Linked DNA regions of Homo sapiens: all the other regions are linked to region 7. Evidence: promoter capture Hi-C in 16 types of primary human blood cells and fetal thymus (Javierre and others, 2016). All regions are on one chromosome and are shown on one strand. Each heading gives the region's core, a stretch centred on a gene start or on the middle of the fragment in contact. The rest is flanking DNA. Distances are from core to core; before and after follow the strand shown.

Region 1 (2,936 bases), core at 248-2,747, 740 kb before region 7:
ATATATATATATAATAAATATAATATATATATTTAACTAAATTTAATAGTATTGAGATATTTTTCTTTTGCACCATATTAGACATTAGTTTACTTTAGAGAATTGGGAGAAAGCAATTCTAGTCAATAGCATTGTACTATGTGATGCTATTTTTCCCTGAAAAGCTTAAAATTTTTTCACAAATACCTCTTCATGATTGCACATTTTTATGAATCTCATTTAAACATTATTCAGAAACAGGTTTTCCTTGTGAGCAAGATCTTCAATTGAATTCAGCAAGGTTGCTCTGTAGTTTTCCTTTTATGATTTATGATGAGATTATTTGTTTTCTGTCATATGGATCTGGGTTTATAATTTATAATTGCTATAAACAACAGTAGCATGACTATTTTGAGCTTATTGAGACAGGTATAACACGCTATTATAATACAGAAATCAGAATTATAAAGAGTTACAGGCAACTCATGAAAAAGCCCACACTGTCCAAAACAAAAAGCAAAACAAAACAAATCAGAACTGGCTGTCATTCTCTGATCCATTGAAATTCTTAATCCTCAGAAATGTAATGTAAAATCTACCAGTCCTATAACTTGAAGAACAAAGTGGAAATGAGAATAGCTTTGGTGAACACACAAGCTCATACAAAACTGTGCTGTTTCTTTATTCTTTGATTTCTATAATTGTGAATATTTTATTTGCACTTAAATCTTTAGCATAAAATATTTAATTCCACTGGTATTAGGCATATACTCTATCTACTTCTTTGCAGTAGGGGAACACAAAATTACCACATGATTTGTACCATCCATTATTTCAAACAGGTTTCTGTTAATTGATAGAGAAAAAGAAGACAGAGAATGGTGGGGGCCAGGGGCCAGGGGCGGGGGCACGGTATGAGCTAAGAGATTTTGCTTTGAACCACAGGGGAAGTAGGAATAGGGTAATGGTTACTTTAAGCGAGAACAAAAGTGGCAACCTGACGGGAAAAACATATAGAGAAAGAGAATATGGTAACATGCAAAGAGAAATAAACATAAACAACTGATTTTTTTTTTTCATTTATTTTCCATTAGAACTTGGTGGGTGTGGGTGGTCAACTGCAAAATAATCAAAGGGCTCAAATTCACAGCAGTAGATAATCCATAACACAGGGTTAGGCAACATTAGGTGGGTCCAGGAAACCTTCACAGCTGAAGACCCAGAGAAGGGAACTGGGCCGGAAACACAGCATCCGGGAACAAGCTGCAAGGAAGTGATTGCCAAAGCCAACCGCCTGTGCAACCACAACAAGGGAATCAACAGGCGTATTCGGGCGTATTCGGCTTGAGACGTGGCCTGCAAGGTATTTGCGGCTTTCATATGACATTTACTCACAGAATAATTGTGTTCTCTTCTAGTAGGCAAGAATATGAGATCGAAGCCTTGTCTGCTGTTTCAGACATTCTCAGTGTGCTGGGCTGTTAGGGGTGTTGGCTTTAGGAGGGGAGGTTGAAGTAGAATGGGCAGATGTTTTGGCAAAATTCATATTCCATGACTATCCAGGGAATGTGCGAAAGTGTTTTTATGTATAACACTATGGAGCAGTAGCACAGCCACTCGTTCAAAAAACAAGGTTTGAACACCCCATTGTCTGCTCTGGAGTTATCCACATACCACACACGAACAGCAAAGAGGCGGCGACTCTGTGGCCCCAGTGCTACCACTTTCTCTTCCTGTGTCTACGTGGAATATTGATAAAACATCACAAAACTTTCTCGTTGAGCCTGAACACAGCCTCAGAATCTTGCCCACACAGCAGGCCAGGATGCCATTAGGATTTACACATACCTGAGGTCACTGGTGTGGCATGTTCATGCATTCATTCATTAAACACTTATTGACATCTCCCACTAGTGCTAGAGATGCAATGATGAGACCGAGGAAGAACACATCCCTGCCCAATGAGAGAGGAACCTCAGAAGAGGCCGCACAGTGCGATGCCGTTGGAATTTCGGCAGTGTGATGCGTTGCTATGGAAGCACACTCAATACATTTGAGTGGAAATGGGAACTCTTGGTGTCATACATTTTTATAGCTTTTCTTTGAATTTTAAGACACATACTAGAATCTATACCTTCTAATAAAGTAAGCCTGGCAATAACAGTTTTCTCTTAACTTCTGTACACACAAACCTTTTTAAGCTCTTTCTTGATCAGGTCCAGGCAGATAATAGAAGCAAGCAAACGCCTGAACAGAGTTGTTGGCAATTAATAAATAAGGGTAATAATAATAGGAATAGCTTACATGTATCCTTCCATTTACTCATTCAGCTAATATTGTGGGGTGCTTACTGTTCATATGGGATCTAACTAGGGATAATGCAAGGGACGAAACAGGTGAAAATGGACAAAACTCCTCATTCTTCAGGGGCTTGCATTCTAATAGAGGAATATAAATAATAGATAAAATTTACTGTTTCTTAGAGGACGAAAAGGACTAAGAGTTTACGTCTTATCATAAGCGTGTTGTATGTATACTAAAAATTCTGAATGATGACAAAGCCCACTTCGGTGGTGGCTACCATCAAGTGTTTGAACTCAGGTTAATGGGACCCAGGAAGAAATGGAGGCTTTTACATTTTATGTTATACCCTTTTGTATTGCATGGGTTTATTTTATTTTAAAAATAACATGCATATATTATTTTATGATTAGGCAATCTAGCTTAAATTTGAAAGAGAACATAAATAGAAAATACACATTCTTTCAGATTCAATTATTAGATTGCCCAATGGGATATAAAGCTGTTGGAGATTTCCCTTTGATTCTCTTTTTTGAAAGCAACAAGCTTCCTGGCCAGGAATACTAGAGTAGTTTATATTTTGAAAAAATAAACCAGAGTACTCTTTCACTAGAAAATTATTCTTCTGGAATTGAAGAATTTGTGAAATATTTTAA
Region 2 (2,994 bases), core at 8-2,507, 770 kb before region 7:
CTTTTCAGCATTTCCAGACCACTGCTTTTTTTTTAAAAAAAAGCTACTGAAGTATAATTTACACATATAAAATTCAACCATTTTAAGGTTCTAATTCAATACTTCTTAGTAAATTTACCAAGTTGTGTGACCATCAACAAAATCCAGTTTTAAAACATTTTCATCATCCAAATAAGATCTCTCTTGTGTCCTATAATAGTCACTTTGTGTTCTCACCACAAACTCCGGGCAATCATTAATCTACTTATGTCTCTACAGATTTGTCTTTCCTGGACATTTTATGTAAGTAGGAGTGGATTACTGGGTCATATGGTAAAATTCTTCAACTTTCAAAGAAAGTGTCAAACCACGGTGTTTTGATCATTATTTTTAACTTTATGACCAATTTTGAAATTACATAGTAAAAATCTCCCTGCTTGGTTCATTTAAAAAAAAAGAAAAAAGTTTATTTTTAAGAGCAGTTTTAGGGCCGGGCGCGGTGGCTCACGCCTGTAATCCCAACACTTTGGGAGGCCAAGGCGGGTGGATCACGAGGTCAGGAGTTCAAGACCAGCCCGACCAAGATGGTGAAACCCCATCTCTACAAAAAATACAAAAATTAGCTGGGCACAGTGGCAGCTGCCTGTAATCCCAGCTACTCGGGAGGCTGAGGCAGGAGAATCGCTTGAACCCGGGCGGCAGAAGTTGCAGTGAGCCAAGATCGCACCATTGCACTCCAGCCTGGGCGACAGAGTGAGACTCTGTCTCAGAAAACAACAACAACAACAACAACAAAAGAAACAGTTTTACGTTTCACAGTAAAATTGAGAGGAAGTACATACAGAGATATCCCATATCCCCCTTCCTCCTACACACACATTGTAGCCTCCCCCATTATTAACATCCCCTACCAGAGTGGTACATATATTCAAAATCACACTATCTGCAAACAAATACAGTCTCCCTCCCTCCCTCCCTTTCTTCCCTTCCTCCCTCTCTCCCTCTCTCCCTCCCTGCCTGCCTGCATTCCTTCCTTCCTTCCTTTTTTTTTTTTTTTTTTCTCCCCCCAGAGTCTTGCTCTGTTGCTAGACTGGAGTGCAGTGGCGCGATCTTGGCTCACTGCAACTTCCGCCTCCCTGGTTCAAGCGATTCTCCTGCTTCAGCCTCCCAAGTAGCTGGGATTACAGGCACGTGCCACCACGCCAAGCTAATTTTTGTATTTTTAGTAGAGACAGTTTCATCACGTTGGTCAGGAGTTTTCTTTCTTTCTTCCCAGTTAGTGTATCTTTTTAGTTCATTTCCTTGTCTGACTGTATTTTCTAGGAGTCTTGTACATGTTGAAAAAGAGTGGTAAGAGAGGACATCTTTGGCTTGCTCCTGATTTTAGTGGGAAAGCTGCTAATTCCTCGCCATTAATAAAATGTAGGCCATAGGTTTTTTTGTAGAGTCTTTATCAGGATGAGTAAGTTCCCCTCCCACTTGGATCTTCTTTTTCAAAATTATTTTGGCTTTTCTGTTTTTTTTTTTTTTTTTTTTTGCATTTCCATATAAGTTTTGGGATTAGCATGTCAAATTCTGTAAAATGTCTACTGTGATTTTGATAGAGATTATACTGAATTTATAGATCAATTTGAGGGGTATTACTATCTGAACAATAGGTCTTATAGTCCAAAACATAAATGATCTCTATATTTAGATAATTTAAAATTTCCTTTGGTGATGTTTTGTAGTTTTCAATACATAAATTCTACACTTGGTTAAATTTATTTCCGTGTATTTATTATTGATGCTGTTGTGAATAAAACTGTCTTAATTTCAATTTTGATTGTTCATCAATATGTAGAAATAAAAATGATTTGTTTACTAATCTTACATCATGTGACCCTGCCAAACTCACTTATTCACAGTTTTTTTTTTTTCTGTTTTTTAGAAGTTTAGCATATAGGAGAGTGTTGTCGGAGAATACAGTTTTACTTCTTCGTTTCTAAGATTGATGTGTTTTATTTCTCTTTCTTGATTGAACTAGCAAGAACCTCCATTAAAATGTGGAATGTAAGTGGTTACAGTAGACATCCTGCCTTGTTCTTGACCTTAGGCTAAAATTATTCAGTTGTTCACCTTTAAGTATGATGTTTACCGTAGGTTTTTCATAACTAGCCTTTATCGGTCTGAGGAAATCCGCTTGTATTACCAGTTTGTTGTGAGTTTCTTTCTTTGTTCTTTCTCCCACTGTTCGTGCATTATTTTTATATATGTTTGTACATTATAAGCCCAACAATATAGTTTTATAATAATTGTTAAATAAGTAAACAAATGGAAAAATCTATTTACGTTGTCTTCTAAAATTTACCTACATAATTACCTTTCTTTGTGAATGTGAATTCCCTTTGGATGTCACCTTCTTTCAGCCTGAAGGACTTCCTTTTGTATTTGTTTTAAGGCAGATCATCTGGAAACAAATTATCAAGTAAGCACAAACAAGTGCTTGTTTATTGTGAATGTGTTTAAATTTGCCTTAATTTCTATGAATTTTCTTTATTTCCTTTGTTTTCTGTCTCATTAAAATTTTTTTATTCCTTCTTTCTTTAGGCCTACTTTATTACTTTCTATCCAACTTTTTTTTTTTCACTGCTGAATCTCCAACTATTTACTTATTTGTTTATTTATTTATTTATGTATTATCAATAGGTTTTTTGGGAACAGGATATAATGCTTGTTTACATGGATAAATTCTTTAGTGGTGATTTCTGAGATTTTGGTGCACCCATTACTTCAGCTGTGTACATTGTACCCGATGTGTAGTCTTTTAGCCCTCACCTTCCTCTTATCCTTCCCCTAGTCCCCAAGTCCACTGTATCATTCTTATGCCTTTGTGTTCTCATAGCTTAGCTCCCACTTATAAGTGAGAACATACAATGTTTCATTTTTCATTCCTGGGTTAGTTCACTTTGAATGTGGTCTCCAACTGCATCCAGGTTGCTGTGAATGCCATTATTTCATTTCCTTTTATGGCTG
Region 3 (3,204 bases), core at 327-2,826, 720 kb before region 7:
CAAGATCTCTTAATAAACATAGAATCACTAGGATTATGTTTGGAATTTCTCTTAGAAAGCACTATCCTACAAAGTTTTCAGGAAAATAATAAACTCTGATATTTTCCTTTGTGTGGTTCCTTAACTATAAAATAAAGTGCTTAACTACAATAGATGATTACTATGTCCTCTTCTAATTCTTCTAATGCCTCCCATGGCAGATTTTTATCATTGCACCATCCCAGAGTAGCCCAAAAGCTTCTTACTTGATTTTCCTGTAACCCAGATCTATCTTTCTGGAATACTGAAGTAAGAAAAGCAGAAGAGTTCAAAGAAATGTATTCTGTTGACATGACAGGTAAAACTGTAAAATTAATAGCTGATTTGATTCCACAGAACCCAGATGTGTGATTGAGGATGAGCTCTTTAGATTGCAGAAAAGGAGCAGCTCAAGAGCCTGGGAATGGCTTACTTTATGATGGGGAAGAGCTTGGTTTAACATAATTGGATAGCTGACTAAAAAGTCAGTGAATCAAAAGCATGATATCATAATAGATGCAAATGTTCAAAGTAATTCTGAGATTATAATTCCAGATGCCCCTAATAAAGAATAAAAAGATAGATTTGTCTTCCAGCTGTACTCTGCCCACAAATAGCTCTCTGGTATGTTTAGATTTCCAGAAGTAAAAATTAGATATATATAAGCCAGAATGAATTTTTTAAAAGTTTCATACACATCTAGAAATATTAGCTGGAATTCCAGTCCCCATAATGAGATGAGAATTGCAACACCAGTAAGGACTTTATGACATCATGTTTGGGGCAAGTAAAAAAAATGTATAATAAAGCATTTTTACTGGCAAAGGGTAATGCACATATGTATTGATATTTTTATTATTATTTGAGTTCATTGTACTACTGAATTAAAGAGGCAAAGCAAAATTATTTTGTTTTTGCTCAGACTCAGAATGATTATAAAGGAAAAAGTTATTAAATGGTGGGATTAGATATTGGTAAGTGAAAATCCAAAGCTAAATCAGTGATAGGATTATAGGACAGAACTTGGCTATTCTAAATGGATTCAGTAGTAAAACATTTATATAATCGAGTACTGAGTATCGAGGAATCCCACAGACTAGTATTCTGAATTACAGTGTATGGTCTTGAGTATTTATGAAAAAAAATAGAGCAAACAATTCTGATTTTTCAAACTTAAGAAGAATATATACTCTGCAAACCACAGATTAGTAAGTTTAATAATAGTGCTTATCAAAGTTCTGCCGCAGCTCATAAAAAGCATGTCTCATGTGAACCTCAAAGATAAAACCTATTCTTAAAGCCAGCATGAGTTTATTGGAAACAAAACTTATTTACTTTTTTCATAAGATTAGAAGACACAACATCAGGTAAAAGTTGCATACATGGTGTTTATGAATTTCGGGCAGGCATATGTCAAGGCCTCTGGTGAATTTCGTATGGGTCAGGATGCCTCTGGATGAGCCTGCTGGGCAGAATTAGCCACAAAATTCCCACCTAAGATTGCTAAGTTATACAACTGCTCAATACAGTTTTAGACATTATCTAGTCGGCCAAAGATGTTCTCTCTTGAGGTGTCTCTTGAGTCCACCATATCAACATGCCTTGTAGGTACCCAAAGACTGATGCAATCACAGGGTACAAAACAATGGAGCAATGAACCTCTTTATGTTTTGTGGGTCAGAATTACTTTCAGAGGCAGCATTCAGTTCTGGGAACCACATTTTAGCAGGGACAAAGGTTGTTTGGATAAATGTTCAAAGATCAAGAATTATGAAGAGAGGAAAACTGCAGCACAAAAGGGTCCAATTAAGCTCTTTTTCTATTCACACAGCTTGACATACTCCTCCGCATTTCTCCACTTTTAACTTTTTTCTTTTTGGAGATGGAGTTTCGCTCTTGTCACCCAGGCTGGAAAGCAGTGGCGTGATCACGGCTCACTGCAACCTCTGTCTTCTGGGTTCAAGTGATTCTCCTGCCTCAGCCTCCCTAGTAGCTGGGACTACAGGCGCACGCCACCACGCCTGGCTAATTTTTGTATTATTAGTAGAGACAGGCTTTTGCCGTGTTGGCCAGGCTGGTCTCGATCTCCTGACCTCAGATGACCCACCCACCTTGGCCTACCAAAGTGCTGGGATTATGGGCATGAGCCACTGCGCCCGGCCTTAACTTTTTTTCTAAACAGAGCTGGCTAGAGTGAGAGGGCAGAAGAGATAAAATATGAGACAGGAAGTATGTTTGCTGCAATCTCAATTTACAACTTAAAAATAATAGTTAAGTGGAGCTGGAATGTTCTTCTGAACGTTGACTCAAAATGTATCACTTAGAACTATCCGAAAAATTCAAGTTTAATCTAGAGAGGGATGTCTACAATGGAGTTTCTAAAACAAAAACCAAACCCATCCCAACCCAAGGAGGTATGCTAGATGTAAATAATAATCAGATTCGTACTTGGTTCAACCAAATATTCTTTAAAGGTCTCTTCCAAAATGAAGTATTCAAGACTAGCATTAGTATATTTATCTAGTAATACAAAATTCATTGCTAGAATTTGATGACATCTATAACCTTGATAGTCTCCCTTTAAATTAAATCATCTTCTTCCTCTTAATCTTTGTGACTTTTGAATTCTAATCACAAATTAAATAAACTGTTTCTATTCAAAAGGAAGTCTAACTCAAACTTTAAAAACAAACATTCAAAAAATCATCTACTGGTGTGTGGACAAATTTGTTCGTGAAGAACTAGCTCTGTAGTTTGGTTTAACCCAAGGCATTCTGCTGCAGAAAGGTCAGGTTTAGAGGAGGGGTTTCCAATATTTGGCTTCCCTGGGCCACAGTGGAAGAATTGTCTTGGGCCATGCATAAAATGCACTAACACTAACTAAACTCAGAAGCTTAAAAAAAAAAGAATCACAAAAATATCTCATAGTGTTTTAAGAAAGTTTACGAATTTGTGTTGGGATATATTTAAAGTCACCCTGGGCAGCACGCAGCCTATGGGCCGCAGGTTGGACAAGCTTGGTTTAGAGATATCATTTATTAGAACATGGGGAAGAATAAATATAGTATAAAAGGAAATTGTGTGGGTCAAATAAAGTTTGTAAATACATGTCTGATGTACAGGAATTGAATTTTTATTAGCAAAGTATTCTGTTTTTAAGTGATATGTAAATGCCCTTTCAAGGTA
Region 4 (3,245 bases), core at 462-2,961, 650 kb before region 7:
GAAGTCCAAGATCAAGGTGCTGGCGCCTGGTGAGGAACTTTTTGCTGTGTCATCCCCTGGCCAAATAAGCATGTCATCCCATAGCCAAACTCACCCTTTTATAACAAACCCACACCTGGGATACCTAACCACTCCCATGATAATGGCATTAATCCATTCCCTCTGTCCTCATGGCCTAATTACCTCTCATTAGGCCCCACCTCCCAATATGGTTGCATTGGGGATCAAAATTCTAGCACATGGACTCCAGAAGACACATTCAACCAAGACTACAAAGGATTTGGAAAAAAAAGAGAGAAGGTTCAAAATTTTCATAAGATTTTCAAAAAAGTTTATTAGCCAAGAAAATATAAGAATTATTTGTAAAGGGTCTAAAGGGCCTTAGATAATTCCTATTTGTTCTATTATCTCTCTGTAAATATGTTGTGTGATTCTGCAATATTGGAACACCCATAATGCATTTTGATTTTATTATATATCAATAAAACTGCTTTTAGAATATCTTAAAGGCAAATGTTTAAATCTAGGGGCTCTATAATTTCTTTCAGTGAACTATGAATGGTACAGACCATGAAATTTCCTTATCTTTCCAGTTGTTGGAGTAACTTTGTATTGAATTAGCACAGCTGCATATAATAATGCTTAATAATTGAGAAAGAAATTTAAGAAAAAATATACTCTTGAATGATGAAATGAAATTTAACATCCTAGTCTCTAAAACTGCCTTAAAATATTTTGTACAGTAATTATGAGTCTTATATGGCCTACAACTGCCATACTAATTATATGTATTTTATTGCTCAAAAGAAGCTTTTGCTACATTTGTATGATTTAAATGTTTTATTTTACATGTGATACAGCTTTTTTTGCTTTCTATAAGCATATTTCAGAAGACTGCTATAAAATACGTAAGATTACTTAAATACCACTTTTATCATTGATTTCATTTTATGTTAGACATTTACTGTCTGAACCTATAAAAATTTCAGCCTGAAATTTTGAGTCCCAGTGAGATGAACCCCAAATTACTATAAATCCATAAGAAGTATTTGTTAAAGATTATATATGATTTTTTTCAGATGTGATATTTAGTTAATTTAGAATAGCTAACTTTCAGTGAATGCCTACTCTGTGCTAAGGCCTAGGTATTTCATATGAGTCAGTTCACATAAACCCTATGAAATAAATTCTATTTTTAACAGTATTTTTCAGGCAAGTAAACTGAGTTACGGATAGGTTAAGTAACATGTCCACTACACAATTAAGAAGTGTGAAGTGTAAAGTAGTCCCTGGTCTTTCTGGCAATTTTTTATTGTCTATGATTCTATGTGGCAATATCTAAAGAGGATAATGACTCGAATGTGTTCCGGCCCACTTCCTACCAGACAATGTTTGCAGGTCCAATATTTGATGCAAAGCTGAAAAGTAAAAGACTTTTTATACCAAGTCCATAATTTCTTAATACAAGTTTTAAAATAATATATATTAGTGGGCTTCTAATCTATTTCTTTCATCAGTTCCACATGTCCATATTCTTTCTTGAGTGTAATTCCCAAGGCTAATTTACTTCTTTGCTTCTTTGCTTCATAGAGGCCACTTTGAAGATAGCTGCAACAAAGAGGTTGCAGTCTTAATCTTTGACACAACCAGGTGTGTTGTTTAAGTTTTACTGGACTGTATTAGGCCATACTTGCATGGCTATAAAGAGATACCTGAGACTGGATAATTTATAAAGAAAAGAGGTTTAATTGGCTCATGGTTCTGCAGGGTGTACAGGAAGCCTAGATCTGGTATCTGTTTCTGGGGAGGCCTCAGGGGGCTTTTACTCATGGCAGAAGGCAAAAGAGGGAGCAGATGTCTCACATGGTGAGAATGGGAGCAAGCAAGAGAGTAGGGAGAGATGTTACACAGTTTTAAACGACCAGATCTTGCAAGAACTTACTGTCATGAAGACAGCACCAAGCCATGAGGGATCTGCCTTCAGGTCCACTCCCACCAGGCTCCACCTCCAGCACTGGGGATTACAATTCAACATGAAGTTTGGGCGAGGACAAATATCCAAAATATATCCTGGACTTTTGTTGTTAAATACTTAGGTATGGCCATGAAATTGAATTGTCTTCAATAGAATGAGACCAGAAGTGATAAACAGTACAGCTTGTTTTTACTTCAAACACCTTGCACCTGCAATCCTCCAAGCTCTTTTACTTCCCACTGGTATAGAACTTTAGAATTCACATGCTAGAGTATAGGAGGCATAAAAAGGGAGGAGCATGGCTCTCTTCAACACCAGCCTTATCTCCAATTAATTGTGGTAAAGAAATAGCCTTCTTTTTCAATTTTGTATGTTCTGTGATCTCAGAAATTTCTCTATTTTTCCCATTTATTTTGGAAAAACAGACAATTCTTCCCTGAACTCATTTCTTATTTGAAATATCTTGCTAACAGTAGATATTACAAACTTAACACTGCCTAGAATAGCAGATTTTCAACCACTTATTTTAGAGACTCAGGTTCACTGAGTACATGGCTAACTTCTAAATTGTCGCAGGTTCCAGTTTTACCAAATATTTTGCTGTATGAGGGAGATCTCCAGGTTTCCTCAAGCTTGAGATACCATTTATTCACTGCCTTCTACTCTACTGTTAAGCAGACACCACATATTTTCACCTTGTTATTAGTACTCAACTTCTGGCAGGAGTTAATTTATCATGAGGTAATTGTAGCTGCTATAAGGAACACACTAAAAAATGACTTAAACATGATATAGTTTCTTTTTGTTCATATAAAGTACAAAATGAACCTTCTTGACCAGCAGGCAGATCTCCAGGTAGTGATTCACATACTCCTGCTCTGTCCATCCTTGTGGCTTTGCCATCTTTAACACTGTGCTCTCAACAGCATTGAGCTAGCAAAAAGGGAATTGTAATTGAGAGCACGGTATAGGTCAGTCTACAGCTGGTATGTATCGCTTTGCTTCACATCCTGTGGGCTAGAAATTATACAGAAGGCCACATCTCACTTAAAAGAGGCTGGGAAAATATAGCAAAACTGTGTTCCTAGAAAGAGGAGGAAATTGTGAAAAGCTAGCAGTTTTTCTCACAGTCAGAAAATATCCAACTTACTATTCCACTGAGTCATATTCTAATGTTATTGATTTTTGCTTTTTTGAAACAATTTTTTAAAGTTACTATGATACTGAACTCTATACTAGAGTACTACACAAATTCTAACTTACCCTATAG
Region 5 (2,977 bases), core at 411-2,910, 670 kb before region 7:
ATCCTTAACAAAATACTAGTAAACATAATTCAACAGCACATTAAAAAGATCATTTACCATGATTAAGTGGGAGTTTTCCCAGAGATGCAAGGATGGTTTGACATATGCAAATCTACAAGTATGATATACCACATTAAAAGAATAAAAGATAAAAACCATGCAATCATGTGAATAGATGGAAAAACAGCATTTCACAAAATTCAACATCCTTTTATGATTAAAAAACCTCTCAACTTACAACTAATATAAAGAATGTACTTCAACACAACAAAGGCCATATATGACAAACTCATAGCTAACATACTCAACAGTGAAAAGTTGAAAGCTTTACTTCTAAGATCAGGAGTAAGACAAGGAAAATAACCACTTCTATTCAACATATCACCTAAAGTCCTAGCTAGAGCAATTAGGCAAAATAAAGAAAAGGCACTCAAATTGGAAAGAAAGAAGCTAAATTTTTCCTCTTTTCAGATAATACAATCATATATAGAACCCCTTAAAACCCCATTAAAAATCCTGTTAGATCTAATATATAAACTCAATAAAGTTTCAGGATACAAAATCAACATACAAAAAACAAAAATAGAAATCAGTAAAATAATTCCATTTACAATAGCTACCAAAACATATTTAGGAATAAATTGAACTAAGGAGGTACCTATATTCTGAATACTATAAAATAAAACATTGATGAAATAAAATAAGACTCAAATAAATGGAAAGATGTCCCATGTTCATGAACTGAAAGAATTCATATTGTTAAAATGGCTGTACTAGCCAAAGCAATGTACAGATTCAATGTAATCTATCAACATTCTGATGAGATTTTTCACATACTAGCCAAAGCAATGTACAGATTCAATGTAATCTACCAACATTCTGATGAGATTTTAGACAGATATATTAAAAACATCCTAAAATCCATGTGAAACCACAAAAGACCCTAAATAGCTAAAGCAAAAGAACAAAGCAGGAGGCATCACACTACCTGACTTCAAAATACACTACAAAGCTATAGTAACCCAAACAGCATATATCACCATAAAAATAGACCAATGGAACAGAGTAGAGAGTCAAAAATAAATTCAAACTATTATGGTCGAAAAAGATTGACAAGAACACACAATGGAAGAAAGGAGAGTCTCTTCAGTAAATGATTTTGGGATATCCATTTACAAAAGAGGAATGTCACCTCATACCATATACAAAAATTAACTCAAAATGCATTAAGAACTTAACTTTAAGACCTGAATGTATGCTGAATGTATGAAACTATTAGAAGAAAACATAAGGGATAAGCTCCAAGAACTTGGCCTGGGCAACAAGTTTTAAGAAATAATCCCTAAAGCACAGGCAACAATTGCAAACAGACAGAAGGAATTACATCAAACTAAATTTTTTTTTTTTTGCACAGAAAAGGAAGCAATTATAAGGAGACAATCTATAGAATGGGAGAAAATATTTGTAAATCATACATCTGATAAGAGGTTAATATTCAAAACATATAAGGAACTCAAACAACTCATCATCAAGGAAACAACCCAATTGAAAAATGAGCGAAGAATCTGAATAGGCATTTCTCAGGAGAAGACATACAAATGGCCAACGTATGTGTTTTAAAAAATGCTCAACATCACTAATCATCAGAGGAACATAAATTAAGACCACAGTGAGATATCACTTCACACCTGTTAAAATGGCTGTTATCGAGAATACAAAAATAAGTGTTAGTAAGAATGTGGAAATAAGGGAAACCTTGTATATTGCTGGTGAGAAGGTAGAATGGTGCAGCCACTGTAGAAAACAGTATGGAGGTTGAAAAAAAAAAACTAAAAATAGGGCAATCATGTGATCCAGCAATCCTCCTTCTGAGTGTGTATCCAAAGGAAATGAAATCAGTGTGTCAAAGAAGAAAGAGATACCTGCCTTCCCATCTTCATTATAGCATTATTCACAAAGCCAAAATATGAAATCAAACTAATTGTCCATCCACAGATGAATGGATAAGGAAAATATGGTATATATACAAAATAGAATACTATTCAGCCTTTAAAAAGAAGGAAACTTTATCATTTGCAATAACTAGGATAAACCTGGAGGACCTTATGTGAAGTTAAATAAGCCACACACAGAAAAATAGATACTAAGTAGAATGGTAGTTACCAGGGGCTAGATGTGGGTGATTGGGAAAATACTGGTCAAAGGATACAAAGTTTCAGTTAGTAGAGATAAATTCAAGAGATCTGATTTGCAACACGGGGTCTATAGTTAATGTATTCTTGAAAATTGATAAGACAGAAGATTTTAGTGTTCTCACAACAAAAAATGAAAGGAACGTGAAGTAATACATATATTAATCAGCTCAATTTAGTTATTCAGCTATATATATATTTCAAAACATCATGTTTTACACTATAAATGCATATATTTTTTATCGATTAAAAATAAATTTTAAAAAGACAAGATTGAAAAGATAAACTTAGAACATATGAAATACATATCTAATAAAGAATAAGTCTCCATATTTCACAAAGAACATCTATGAATTGGTAAAATAGGAACATACAACCCAAATGGAAATTAGGCAAAAGACATAAGCAGGCATTGCACAGCAGCACAAACAGAAATGGCAGTAAATGTATACAAAGCTGTTCAGTCACAATAACAACCAGTTCAATGGAAAAGCAAAATGAACTACTTTTTCTTACCAATCTGATTGGCAAAATTTTTAAAAAATCCCTACACACTCCATGTGGCTATAAGGAAATATTCATACAACCTGGGTGTAATCTTATCGTGTATATTTAGCAATAATTATTTTAAAATTCCAATAGAATTGTATTTGTTGGCCAAACAATCCAACTACATGTACAAATTCATTCATAGCAGTAGTATTTATAATAGCAAAAGATTAAAATCAACCCAAGATTTCATCTATAGAGATTGATAGAAATAAACTACAGTTCATTTACATAAT
Region 6 (3,046 bases), core at 311-2,810, 690 kb before region 7:
AAGACAATATTTCCATGGACTTGGTTTGGGGATGGTTTCAGGATGAAACTGTTCCACCTCAGATCATCAGGCATTAGATTCTTATAAGGAGTGTCCAACCTGGATCCCTTGCATATGCAGTTCACAATAGGATTCCCGCTCCTATGAGACTCTAATGCTGCTGCTGATCTGACAGGAGGCAGAGCTCAGGCACCGCTAACCTCCTGCTGCATGGCCCAGTTCCTAACAGGCCTCGGACCAGGACCAGTCCATGGCTCTGGAGTTGGGGACTGCAGATTTAGAGCATGTTCAAAACATACATGTTGATGGTTTAGGTTCTGTGGGGGGAAAAGCGGATATAAGAAGAATCTTTATTAAATTCCTTGTCCTTGGTTGTCTCAAATGAATAAGCACTCAGACAGAGTAATTTGATTTGCTGGAGTATAAAGGGGAGATGTGAGAAATGTCAGAGTTTCAAAATGTAGTATTTTGTAGAAGTACTAGATGCTTGACACAATTATTTTAGCATTTGTTGCTGAGGCTTTGCTTTTTGCATAAGAGACATAGCTTTTCATTGATCACATAGAATTAGCATGATTGATCTTGGGAAAAAAGTAAAAGCTAGTGAAAATGTTTATTTCAAAGCCTAGTGAAAATATTTCTTCTGAAATTTGAGGTAATATTTTGAATTTTATTCATCAAAATAAAATCTTTTCCATTATATGTATTTTCTTTAAAATTGAAACTAATGTGTTTAACCAGCTTTATCTGAATTAAAAATAATATCTAACAAAAATAAGCCACAAGAAAATCTAGATTGGTAGGGGAAAATGCATATTTCTCAATTTGCATTTAAATAAAATCAAGGTTTTTGCTAAGTATTATATTGGTGAGAAAACTTATAAGAAATATTTATGAGAAAATTCATACTAAAGTATTATAAATGTTATGTGTATAATATTTATAAATTAATTTTAGAAAATGCTGGGTTAAACAAGCTCAAGCAGTATTGTTGACTAAATATATTCCCAGAATCTTTGACAATTATGAATCTCCCAAAGGGATATTCATTGTACAGTATTTCTCAATGTAGTTTTTTGGAAATATTTTTCTCAAGAATAATAATCATGGACCTATGCCTTGAGAAATTGCTTTGAGAAACAATGTCTTAGAGTCCATATTGTTTACTTCTTTAGTAACCAACAATTTGCAAGCCTTCAAACAATTTTTATTATGGGAAAAATGAAGCCACTTCATACCCAACAGGCAGACGAACCACTGTAGCCTTGGTAGCATATGTGTGAATCTTCAGAACAAGACTGCCTGGTTTCAGGGATTTCCAAGAAAACGTTTCAGCTGTGAGAAGTCCAGGCTCTATGGGAGGACTGTCTTTTGTTAAGGCTTTAAGATAAGTAAAAAGGTATTAAAGTTTGATCATGAAAGTGTAGTTGGCATTCACTAGTACTGTCTTTTTTTATTAAGTAACAACATAAATAACAATAATCAAGCATTAGAAATATTACTAAAATGTTCATAAAACATTAGAAATTACTCCAGGTAAATTACTAGAAATAACACTTAGGTCTTCCTCCCTGTTCAATATTCTTCCTTGTAACAATCCTCTCAAGTGAAGAAACCAGGAATAGGAAAATTAGAATCAGGAGGACATTTTTCATTGTAGTATAGCATCGCTTTTATTATCTCTATGGTAATAACTACAATATCCTTCTAGATACAATTTTAAAGGAAGAAAACATATTACATCTTGAAAAATAAGAGATTTCTCTAAAATAGTGTAAAAAATAAATCCAAATATCCCACTGTTTATCAAAAAAATTATTTATTTTTTAAAGACGGGTTCTCACTCTGTTACCCAAGCTGAAGTGCAGTGGTGCGATCTCGGTTTACTGCAACCTCCACCTCCTGGGTTCAAGCAATTCTCCTGCCTCAGTCTCTGGAGTACCGGGGATTACAGGCATCTGCCACCACCCCTGGCTAATTTTTGTATTTTTAGTAGAGACAGGGTTTCACCATGTTGGCCCAGGCTGGTCTCGAACTCCTGACCTCAGGTGATCTGCCCGCCTCAACCTCCCAAAGTGCTGGGATTACAGGAGTGAGCCACCATGCCCAACCTGTTTATCAAAATTTTTATCTTTGATTCAGTCTTTGACATTATGTAGAAATAGCAAGCAATTAACAAAGTTTAAATTTAATATCAAGTTTTTTATTAAAAATGGATAAATAATATAGGCTAATTGTTCATCAATGACTGAGGGCAAAATAATTTCCCCCCTATTTCCAGAAAACACTGGAGTTGAGGACATAAGGTCACAACATTACCTGAAATGCCTTCATGCCTATAGAATTTAAATGTTCTGGGACATGGTGTGGCTTCAGGGCTTTTGGTTTGGTAGATGCACTAAATTTAGATCACTAAATTTTGGAAAGTTTATTATACAACAAGTATTTTCTAGCCACCTGCTCTATGTTAGACACCATTCAAAACATTGACGATATTTCAGTTTAAAAAAAATCCCTGCCCTGCATGTTGACAAAACATTCAGTATTAAGCATTTGGGAAATACTTATTGTACATTTACAGTGCCATGTACTGTTAATTTGAGCTGAAGAAAAATTCTTTAACAAAACAGGCCAAAGAATAAAAGAATGAAGTTTTGTGAGTGTGTGCCTGTGTGTGCGTGTGTATGCAAGGGTTTGGCCTTGTAGAGGAGCAGAGATTGTCTATCCATTAGAACAGAAGGAAGGTGGCCTAGATTTTGAGAAAGTTCATTGTGGGAAAGGGAGGTACAAATTCTGAAAGCAGAAATCCTTTCTGATTTCTTCTGTCTATTCAGTGAGATCAGCAGCAAGGTCATCATCTGAACATGAGTGAGAGTAAGAGTAGGTGTTGAAGATTTGAAGAGAGAGAGAATGTTTGAGGGTTTGCAATAGGTCATCTACAGGAATAAATAAGAGTGGGAGAATAAAAGAATGACAGAAATACTGGCAGTGCCTAAGGCCTTGTTGAGATTTGTGCTCCTCAAATGTAAGCAGGGCTAGCCAGTGT
Region 7 (3,408 bases), core at 87-2,586:
TACACTATAATTGTAAGGAAATGAGGATAAAAGGCAATGCCTGGGTGGGCAGTACTGAGAAGGGTAAACTCCGTTCCCCACAGTGCTAGAAATAAACAGGAACAATACTATGATCCCAGGAGCACATCATGCATTGCCCTGACTTTCTCAGTACCCTTCTTTCCCAAATATAATGCCTACCTTCCGTGTGGACTGCAGAGACATAGGTCCAATTGTAACGTTTGACTATGTCAAGCATGGCCCTTGCCTGCAAAGTGTCAGAAGGGACAACCCTCAGGAAGTATTTGTACAAAGTTTTGTCACTCAGGTCGATGCTTGTGGCTGAATAAGCGATCTGGGGGATGTCGAAGAGCTGGAGCAGGTTCTGCACTTGAATGGCTACAGAGCTGGAGCCGGGACCGATCACTCCCGCAATGGGCTTCTTAGTCCTGCCTGGGGGGAGGGACTGGCCGTCAGGCAGACACCGGTTGATCCCATCCTTCTCATCTCGAATGGAAATCAGAGAGTCCCTAATGAACTCAATGCTCTGTTCCAGAGCCACGGAAGAGTGCCAGCAGGAGTCCCGGATCTCACTGCCCAGGGTGATGTTGGGCAGGAGGACCGGGTCCGCGTTGATCTTATCCAACGTGTGGAACATGGCCTCCACCCTCTGGATGCCATACTGCTCCCTGATCTCCCCACACTTCCTCTCGGGCACTTTCTCGGCCGGAGGCTGGTGATGGACTGAGAAGAGGGCTCCAATGATGACATCTCCGTCCATTCTGGCCACCGAGCGCTGAGACGACGCTCCTGCCAGCAACACTTTCCTGCCGGGGCTTCTGGGGAGAAGGGACACCTCCAAAAAGATCGCTGGGAAAAAAAACAAAAGGAGCCCGACCATGGTGGTGAGGACGAGGTCCACAGCCTGCCAGCCGCGTTCCCACGCTGGTCCCGCTGCAGGCTCCCGGCGCGCACCCCCAAGACGCCCAGCGCCGCCTCTCCCGGAGTGGTGCCCCTCGCCAACAATGGTCGTCCAAGGCCTTTGCCTCCTCCACCACCGCCTCCTTCCCCTTCGTCTCCTCCTCTGGGTCCTCCACGACCGCCTCTACAAGCTGGAGGCGTTTGTAAGGGAATTCGAGTCCCCGTTCTTCACCGGTAGTGCATCAAGGTAAATTGATCAAGAGTACAGTGGAAGTCGTGTTGGCAGCGGTGAGCTAGATGCTGCTGACAAAAGACAGAGAAAAATCACAACCTTGTCATCAGAGGACCTGTGTTAAAACTCTGGGGTCTATAATGTTAACAGTTGCCTTGTCCGTTTCATTTCGGCACATCCTGATATCGGCTGCAGGAACAGCTTGGAGCGCAGCTGTGGTCACTGAGGAAGGCGGGGTGTCCTGCCCCCTCTGTCCTCACGGGTCCAGGCGGCGCAGAGCCCCGCCAACTCGCCCGCTCCTCCAACCTTAAGTCGTTTCCTGGTCCCCTAAAACCTATCATGCTTTCTAACTTGGAGGGCGGTGGGGAAGGTGAGCAGAGAGGAGGGGAGGAGCTAGGTCCTTCAACCCAAGAGAACTTTCCGGATTGGAAAAGATCAACTTTTTTTCAGAAGAAAATTTGGAAACTCATTGTAAAGGTGGAAGCGCGACTTTAAAATAAACGTAAACAAAGGATGCACCTTTTACTTTAATTTTGAGGGGTTGAAGAAGCCCTGACATAAAATCAGCTGTAAATATAAATTTGCCAGCTTGAAGAAAATCCACATTAGTTACTAAGGCAACGCCTGGTAAAGTCTCCGTATGGAGGAGTTTGGTATGTTTCCCCCGTAAGAAGTCAGGCTTGCTGTGTATGTTCAAGAAGAAGGGGTGCAGATAAGGTAACTTGTTTCCCGCGGTGGGTGGACGGGTTAGGGGGGGTCCTGCGCTTGCTTTGGGGTTTGCATAGTTGCTAGAAAGGGAACGGAGGGGAGCTTCCGGGTTGCTCTCGCCGCGGCAGCCTGAGCCCTGCCGCCTTCAGGACCCTGGACAGTGCTCGGTCCAGCCAGACATTCCCTGGCAGGGCCTGCAAGGGACGCTTTGACCAGTGAGTTGCAATTCCCTGACCCGCTTTGCTCTTTCAACCTCCCTCCTCTGAGTTCTTTACCCATACACACACACACACACACACACACACACACACACACACACACACACTCCCTTCCACTCGAGTCCCCACCGCCCCTCCGCCCTCATTCTCATCACCTTGCACCGCTTGTGCAGGTATATATCCAAACCCACCCGCTTGGGGACAGAGGCGCCAAATCTCAGCCGCCTGCGGGGCTGAAGTTGGCTCCCTCTCCCGTTCCTCCCCTGCTCCTTTTCTCAAGGTGAGAGTCGACGAAAAGGGGGCTATGGGAGCGGGCGAGGAGAGCACAGGAGGTGAGGCAGAAAAAGGAGAAAGAAAACCCAGGCACCCATTGGTCCCGACTCTTCCTGAGGATACAGGACGAAAAGAAATACATAAGCGAGAATGCGCCTGGGACCCGGAGGAAAATCTGATAGACTGGGACTTTGTCTGCCGTTGTGGGTGGGTTTCACCGGAGGAAGTGTCCGCTCACCTGAGTCTGTTTGGAGGACATGGACTTGAGACATACCTGAGTACCTGAGTCGGGGTAGACAGCGCTATGGTCCCGGGGCCAGAGGACCGTGGCCACGCTCGGCTTGCAGACGCCTCAGCTCTAATCCAGACGGTGCAAGGATGCGATCTGGGCTGTACACTAGTGCCCTCTTTCTTCAGCACTATTTTACCGCAAGGGAAAAAGAGGGGGAGGGAAGAAAAAAAAAAACAGGTCACCCAAGGCTTGTCTATTATCTCATGTATAAAAATCAGTCGTTTGATAGAGGGAGGAGGGGAGACAAACTAGGAGGAAGTGGGGAATATTAATTCCTTTACTATATGAGGGGTCGTATAGAAGCTGCCAGATACGTGAATAGTCAGACAATCTGGCCAAAGAAGTGGAGAACTGCCTAGGCTGCTTTGGGGTAGATATCTTTGTATATATATCTCAGGGACTCAAATATATTTTCTCTTTCTGCGAGTAAAGTCCCTACAGAGGGAAACAGAGTGTAAACACATGTACAGACATCTAAAGAAAGGCTCTATTAGTAGATTGCAAGGGAAATCAGGAAGAGGCTGCATAGGGTGGGAGAAGGGAAAGGACAGGCATGCCCATTATGAATTAAGGTATGCCAAATGAAGAGAGACATATTGTGGCTGCATTTTCAGGTCAAGATGTAACTAAATTGAGAATGAGAGTCAGGTCACATGAAAATACTGGAGTGACAAATACTTATCCAAATTCCTCCCAGGCGGCCATCACCTTCCCTACAGGTCTATGGTGTTGCTTCTGACTGTGTGAAAAGCGGAAGTTAAATCACATTCCTCTGGGAACATGTT

The links. Contacts are between HindIII fragments. The CHiCAGO score rates a contact against its expected background, and 5 or more counts as called.
Region 1: a contact is called between a fragment that was not itself captured here and the fragment with the promoter of GRM1 in region 7, in 3 of 17 cell types (M0 macrophages, endothelial precursors and M1 macrophages). The highest score is 7.3, in M0 macrophages.
Region 2: a contact is called between a fragment that was not itself captured here and the fragment with the promoter of GRM1 in region 7, in 1 of 17 cell types (M2 macrophages). The highest score is 5.7, in M2 macrophages.
Region 3: a fragment that was not itself captured here is called in contact with the fragment with the promoter of GRM1 in region 7 in 5 of 17 cell types (M0 macrophages, M2 macrophages, endothelial precursors and 2 more); the score reaches 9.2 in M0 macrophages.
Region 4: a contact is called between a fragment that was not itself captured here and the fragment with the promoter of GRM1 in region 7, in 1 of 17 cell types (endothelial precursors). The highest score is 8.6, in endothelial precursors.
Region 5: a fragment that was not itself captured here is called in contact with the fragment with the promoter of GRM1 in region 7 in 7 of 17 cell types (M2 macrophages, M0 macrophages, endothelial precursors and 4 more); the score reaches 18.1 in M2 macrophages.
Region 6: a fragment that was not itself captured here is called in contact with the fragment with the promoter of GRM1 in region 7 in 2 of 17 cell types (M2 macrophages and M0 macrophages); the score reaches 7.4 in M2 macrophages.

What each region holds. Positions count from the first base shown.
Region 1 is chr6:146,769,501-146,772,436 of GRCh38, reverse strand. All of the region lies in intron 29 of ADGB (androglobin), which reads right to left. It overlaps LOC105378040 (a long non-coding RNA gene), which reads left to right and starts at 1,284. Exons shown (of 4, transcript XR_943093.2): 1 at 1,284-1,342. The HindIII fragment of the contact is 2,662 bases long and covers 167-2,828 here.
Region 2 is chr6:146,797,581-146,800,574 of GRCh38, reverse strand. All of the region lies in intron 33 of ADGB (androglobin), which reads right to left. Among named protein-coding and RNA genes, the nearest start is that of ADGB, 200 kb to the right of the region's middle. The HindIII fragment of the contact is 4,906 bases long and covers 1-2,994 here.
Region 3 is chr6:146,742,608-146,745,811 of GRCh38, reverse strand. All of the region lies in intron 25 of ADGB (androglobin), which reads right to left. All of the region lies in intron 1 of LOC105378040 (a long non-coding RNA gene), which reads left to right. Among named protein-coding and RNA genes, the nearest start is that of ADGB, 150 kb to the right of the region's middle. The HindIII fragment of the contact is 2,674 bases long and covers 240-2,913 here.
Region 4 is chr6:146,679,924-146,683,168 of GRCh38, reverse strand. All of the region lies in intron 9 of ADGB (androglobin), which reads right to left. Among named protein-coding and RNA genes, the nearest start is that of ADGB, 83 kb to the right of the region's middle. The HindIII fragment of the contact is 1,797 bases long and covers 813-2,609 here.
Region 5 is chr6:146,702,720-146,705,696 of GRCh38, reverse strand. All of the region lies in intron 13 of ADGB (androglobin), which reads right to left. Among named protein-coding and RNA genes, the nearest start is that of ADGB, 110 kb to the right of the region's middle. The HindIII fragment of the contact is 2,666 bases long and covers 328-2,977 here.
Region 6 is chr6:146,722,520-146,725,565 of GRCh38, reverse strand. It overlaps ADGB (androglobin), which reads right to left. Exons shown (of 36, transcript NM_024694.4): 18 at 1,239-1,380. Among named protein-coding and RNA genes, the nearest start is that of ADGB, 130 kb to the right of the region's middle. The HindIII fragment of the contact is 9,478 bases long and covers 1-3,046 here.
Region 7 is chr6:146,026,990-146,030,397 of GRCh38, reverse strand. It overlaps GRM1 (glutamate metabotropic receptor 1), which reads right to left and starts at 1,336. Exons shown (of 8, transcript NM_001278064.2): 1 at 181-1,336. The coding sequence starts at 880. RefSeq lists enhancers at 517-1,017, 1,018-1,518. The HindIII fragment of the contact is 3,742 bases long and covers 1-3,408 here.